Regions from separate parts of the Homo sapiens genome. Here region 1 is linked to region 2. The links are contacts of gene promoters, found by promoter capture Hi-C in human tissues and cell types (Jung and others, 2019). All regions are on one chromosome and are shown on one strand. Each heading gives the region's core, a stretch centred on a gene start or on the middle of the fragment in contact. The rest is flanking DNA. Distances are from core to core; before and after follow the strand shown. Region 1 overlaps HS6ST1 (heparan sulfate 6-O-sulfotransferase 1). Region 2 holds the start of SAP130 (Sin3A associated protein 130).

Evidence for each region. Contacts are between HindIII fragments. The study calls those that stand out against the background at their distance.
Region 1: a contact is called between a fragment that was not itself captured here and the fragment with the promoter of SAP130 in region 2, in 1 of the 25 tissues and cell types used here (spleen).

What each region holds. Positions count from the first base shown.
Region 1 is chr2:128,288,796-128,291,758 of GRCh38, reverse strand. All of the region lies in intron 1 of HS6ST1 (heparan sulfate 6-O-sulfotransferase 1), which reads left to right. Among named protein-coding and RNA genes, the nearest start is that of HS6ST1, 29 kb to the left of the region's middle. The HindIII fragment of the contact is 4,625 bases long and covers 1-2,963 here.
Region 2 is chr2:128,026,693-128,029,392 of GRCh38, reverse strand. SAP130 (Sin3A associated protein 130) reads left to right here and starts at 1,334. Exons shown (of 21, transcript NM_001330301.2): 1 at 1,334-1,453. RefSeq lists silencers at 647-796, 1,047-1,566, 1,667-2,006, 2,067-2,356. The HindIII fragment of the contact is 22,535 bases long and covers 1-2,700 here.

The DNA.
Region 1 (2,963 bases), core at 423-2,922, 260 kb before region 2:
TCCCCGTGGAAAGAGGAGGGGCCAAGTGATGGAAAGCAGCAGGACTGGTATGAGGCAACAAGAGCCCCAGGCTGGAGAGGCCAGGCCAGGTGAGGCACACAGCCTGTGCCCTGGCTCCCTTGAGGTCCACCTTGCCCCAGGCATGGCGTCAGCCTGTGGAGGACCCAGGTCCTGCAGCCAGGGGCTCTCCCTCAGGCCCTGGTGAGCTCATTTAGAAGCCAGCTGCTCCCGCTGACGCACCTTCTGAGCTCACCCAGTGCCTGGGGCCCTCCCTGCCAGAGGTCTAGCCCCCAAGAGACACAGTGAGGATCCAGACTGAGGAGGCTAATGCTTCCTTCTGCTGCTCCAGTGCCATGGCCGCCCCAAACCTCCAGGACTCACACCTCACTGAGCGCAAACCCACAGCCTTAACTATGGGGTGCTCTGGACCCAGGGCAAGGGCAGTGGGCAAGAAAAGTAGCCCTCCCCCATGCCGGGACTCCGGCTGTCTGAGAGGGTGTGTGAAGCCCCCAGCCTAGTAATGCCTGCACGGGGTACTCACTAAAGACAAGAAGGACAGGCAAGGGGACTCTACTGGGACAGTTAGGTCCCTAGTTCCTCCTTGTTTTATTGTGTCAGCTGAGATCCCCAGTACATGCAGAATTGCCTTAGAGAGAGTGGACATCTTTGTCTTATTCATGATCTTAGAGGGAATGCATCTGACTCTTCCCCATGGGGACCATGCTTGCTCTAGGTTTTGGGGATACTTTATCAAATTAAGGAACTTTTTTTTTTAATTTGAGACAGTTTCACTCTTTTGCCCAGGCTGGAGTGCTATGACACGATCTCCGCTCACTGCAACCTCCACTTCCTGGGTTCAAGTGATTCTTACGCCTCAGCCTCTTTATAGGTGCGTGCCATCATGCATGCTAAATTTTTTTTTTTTTTTTTTTTTTTTTTTTGTATTTTTAGTAGAGACGGTGTTTCGCCATGTTGGCAAGGCTGGTCTTGAACTCCTGACCTCAAGTCATCCACCTGCCTCAGCCTCCCAAAGTGCTGGGATTACAAGTGTGAGCTACCACGCCTGGCCAAATTAAGGGACTTCTATTCCTAGTTTCCTGAGAGTTTTTATTATGAATAGTGTTTTTAGCAGATGCTTCTTACACATTTACTGAGCTCTGTAGTCTGTTGCTGTGATGAGTCACATGTATGGATTTTCTCCTGTTAAGCCATCCTTGCATACCTGGGGTTACTAAGTATGGTCGTAGTGTAATATCTTTTATATGCTCAATTGGGTTGGATTTGATAAGATTTTTGTTGAGGAATTTTTGTATCTATATTTGAACTCTGAGCTTAGCAGATGTGTCCACCAGGCTGCAATTTTCCTCTCTTGTGCATTTGTCCAACTTCGGTATTAGGATTATGTTGGCCTCATAGAATGAATTGGGAGTGTCCACTGCTTTACTCTTGTCTAGGAGGGTTTGCTTACAAAAATCTGGTTCTTTTAAAATTTGGTAGAAATAGCCCAGCACTTTCTTTGTAGGAATTTTACCCCTAACTTTTTATCTTGAAAAATGTCAAACTTACAAAGTCGTTGAAATGGTAGTAAAGTGAACCTCATACCTTTCACCGAGACCCACTGCTTGTTAACATTTTGCAATATTTGTGCTTGTGAGTGGGTGCTCTCACTTGCTGTTTACATATATGTATATCTGTAGATACATGTGTACTTACATGTATATTTATATATGTAGTTATATACATGCTTTTGCATTTTAGTAGAATCATTTGAATGTAAGCTGCAGGCATTTCCTCAATATTTTAGGAAGATTTTAAACTACTGCTTTGATTTTTGCTTTTTGAGATTATCGGGCTATTTGTGACTTATATTTGGACATTTTATACAAATAATTTGACTGACAGCTATCCTCTCTCTATCTCTTACATGTTCTCCTGGTGCCTCTGGCCTGTGGTTGGTGAAAGCAGGTAGGTCTGTTCCGGCAGCTTCCTCTCTTTCCCTGCCAGCTGGGGTGGGCCCATCCTCATGCCGAGCGTCATGCTGTGACCTCCAGGAGGCATATTGTCTTGTTTTGTGCAAGGAGGAAACAGATGACAGATGCATTCCTTGGGGAACTCGTCAGGGCCACACAGCTGCTGGATGGCAGATCCCTTAGCAAGCTGGAGACCTGTTTTCTGGTGCTGCCAATGGCGCGCCGGGTTCTCCTGGGAGCTTCGTGCTGCTCATCTCAGGGACCGTGCACGTGGGTGAGCAGCAGACATGCCTTGTGGCCTATGAAGTCAGACACCTCTGGTATCTGGGAGACTTTGGCTGCAGAAGGATCTCTGAGTCTCCATTTGCCCATCTGCAGGGGGATCTAATAGTGGCGACCGTACCGGGGTTGCAGGAATAAAATGAGCAAATGCCTGCTGGGCCCTAACCTTTTTTGGAGGCACCAACCACAGAAGTGCTTGATGGGGGGCCATAAAATGGCTGGTTCTGGAGAGTCAGCATTCCCGAGTCCCCAGGGTCACTGCTCAGGTGACAGCTTTCTCAGTGCATCACCCGGAGCTGTCGCCCTCCTTGTAAGTAGAGCCAGGGCCATGGGAGTATAGAGTTGGATACTGCAGTTAGCTTGGGCACAGAATGGCTTATCTCTGGGGTGGGCTGTTTAGGCTCTGAATTTCCCTGTCTGGGGAAGAATAGTCTACATTCAAGAGCATGCAAGGCCATCTCTCCGCGGCCGCCTCTGTGTTTATATGGACTCGGGGGTTGAGGGAGCAGGTGTCAGCCCCTCTTCGCTGCAGAGAGGCTCTGTGGGGTCGTGGGTGAGAACCAGGACTTTGCCTCGGACCCTGACATGAGTTGCTGTGGGGTCAGCAGGAGGTGGAGCCTGGAGGGGTCCCAGGGACACCCCCAGTGATCCTCAGATGAGCTCTCGCCCTCCTGACCCCGAGAAAGGCTGATTACTGGTGATGATCCTGTG
Region 2 (2,700 bases), core at 85-2,584:
CAAAAAGGATGACATTTGAAACTGTGGAAATACATTAAACCATTTAGGAAGGCAGTATAGCATTAGCGTGTTGGAGCCCTGAAGAATGCTGTATTTATGAGAAAGAGGAGGTATAATGGAGCTTGACATAGGAGTAGAAGCAGGAGACAGCCTGGTTCTAGAGGCCAAGGGAAGACATGAGGAGGAATTACTACTGGTCAGTAAGCTAAACAAGATGAGATCTAAGTGAGGACCGATGGGTTTGAAGTTGAGTAGGTGTTGGCAACTTTTGGGGAGCAGTCTGAGAAGAGTGGCAACTCCAAAAGGGATAAGGACTGCCTAGGCAGAGAGGAGGCTGAAGTCTATCACAGGAGTCACTCTTTAGAAGTTTGAGAATGAAGGCATGAAGGTGGAAAAGGAAAGTGGCTTGAAGAGGAGGAGTATCTGAGACTCATCCCTGGGCTATAGCCAGGAGCTACTCTCTTCTAACCAAGCAGTTGTCTTACACAGCTGTGCATGATAGGAAGAGGGGGGTTTGAGCCCCATTTATTTCCTAACTAATCACAAAACTCCAGGCCTAAATTACCATCTGGTAAGGGAAGAGGGAGACTTAATCTCTTATCAGACACAAATGTGGCCTCAAAAGATATGGCTAAGTCTTCTACAGGTGCATAAACTCCAACCCTGAACCCCAAGCAAAATGACAAAATAAAACTGCCCCCTTCAGCTCCTTTATAATCCGGAAAGCGCGCGCAGGTGCGCCCCGGCCGCCCAGAGCCCTGCGCCCTGCCGGCCTGCTTTCACAGAGCCGCGCCCGCGCTGCGCCTGGCGGCTCCCGCCGCGCGTAGGCTGTGCCGACCGCGGTTCCCGGTGGGGACACCGAGTCCCACTCGCGGCATAGGGAGGCGGGCACCGTCACGACACTGGCCCGGCCCGCGGATCCCTTGGCCGCCGCAGTTGGCCTCCATTACCCTTTCCCGCGCCGCGCCTCCCCGCGGGGAAAATGAAACCCAGTGCCCTCAGGTTAAGGCATAGGGTGGGATCCACTGTCTTCTCACTTAGCCAAGAGAAAAGGCAGAACCGACTTCAGACAGCAAAGGGGTGTGTTGCCCTGGCCGGGTCGCCTGCGGCCCCGCCCCGGCGCTCTCCACCTCCTTCGCGGCCCGCCCTCCTGACTCCGGCGACTACATTTCCCACAGGACGCCGCGGCTCAGAGGGGCGGGCCCGTCCGCTCTCCCGCTCACGACCACCGGCGACTGGCTGACTCGGCAGGGGGCGGGGCCTGCGCCAGCCAATAGACGGGAGGCTCGTTACGGCGGCGGAAGCAGCGGCGCTGGAGTGAGGGGTGGGGGGCAGAGTGCTAGCTCCCCGGCGGTGGCTGCGGGTCCGGAGCCTGGGGACGTCGGCCCCACAGACGGAGAGCGCGCGGGAGCGAGCTCAAGGCGGCGCGGCGGCCACTGGGCGCAGCACCCAGGTAATGGCGGGACGGGCGCCCGGGAGGGAAGGGGAGGAGACGAGGGGGCGGGGCGGCTGAGCCGGGCTGCAGCGTCCGTCCCGTTGCGCGTCCCCGGGGAAGGGCAGAGGATCCTCGTCTCCTGCGGCTCGGACCGCGGCTCTTTCGCGAGCTGGTCACGGCGGTTGGGCCGGCGACAGGGGCTGGGTGTCCTGTGGCGAGGAAGGGAGAGGCACCGGGAGGGGTGGGCTGACCCGGGCGTGGGGGCGTGGCGGACGTGGGCCTTGGCGGGGAAGCAGAGCGGCCGGGGGAGCGCGGGCGGGCGGGCGGGCGGGCGGCCGGCCCAGGGAGTTTGGCTCCTGGAGCAGTTTAAAGTGACTCTCCACATCCGGGCCCTGCGCCCGCCGCTTTCAGACCCTGGCTGAGGCGGGGCCTCCCCGCTCCCCGCCCCCTTCGCCGGGGGCGCCTGTCTTCCTCTGCCATTGGCTCAGCCTCGAGGGGTTTGGGCTGCCCCGGCCAGGCTCGCGCCTGATTGGCTGGCAGTCGGCGGGAGGGTGGGGCGGGCTCTGAACGTGCAGGTCGCTGTGGATTGGTCCTGGGCCTCCACTGACGCGTCGGGCGTGGGGCCAATGGGCGGGCGGGGGAGGCAGGGGCAGGTTCGGGGGAAGAGGACTGCGAGCACAGCGGCGGCCGGGTGGCGGGGGTGAGTGGGGCCAGCGGGGCTGGACAGCAGCGGGCCCCGGGCGCCGCCGCCGCGATCCCTCCCCGCGCCCGCCGAGCACATCGCCGCCGCCGAGATGGGCCCTCCGCGGCACCCCCAGGCCGGCGAGATAGAAGCGGGCGGTGCGGGCGGCGGGCGGCGGCTACAGGTAAAGAGGCACAGTGCTCGTCTTGTGGTCGGGTCCCCAGATCGCCCGTCCGCACCCCCACCCCGGAGACGGGGGTCTCACACTCCGAGGTGTCTGGAAACCGGCGTCCTCCGGTCTCAGCGGGGGCTTCGCGGTGGGGTGGGGTTGCGGGCGAATCGGGAGATCGCTTGGCTCCTGAGGGAAAAGTGGGGGGCGATTTTAGGGAAGATGGAGAAGGTGTAGGGTCCTCTGGCTCTGTGAGGGGATCTGTGGAAGAGAAGGAAAAGGAAATCCGTAAATGGAGGCCTTTGCCGAAAAGCATTGGAGAATTCCTTTTGCATCGGGTCTGGATGTAAGATATCGGATCTTTTCTTAGGGCTGGATATCTTCCTCCGAATGTTCCTATGACATACTAATCAC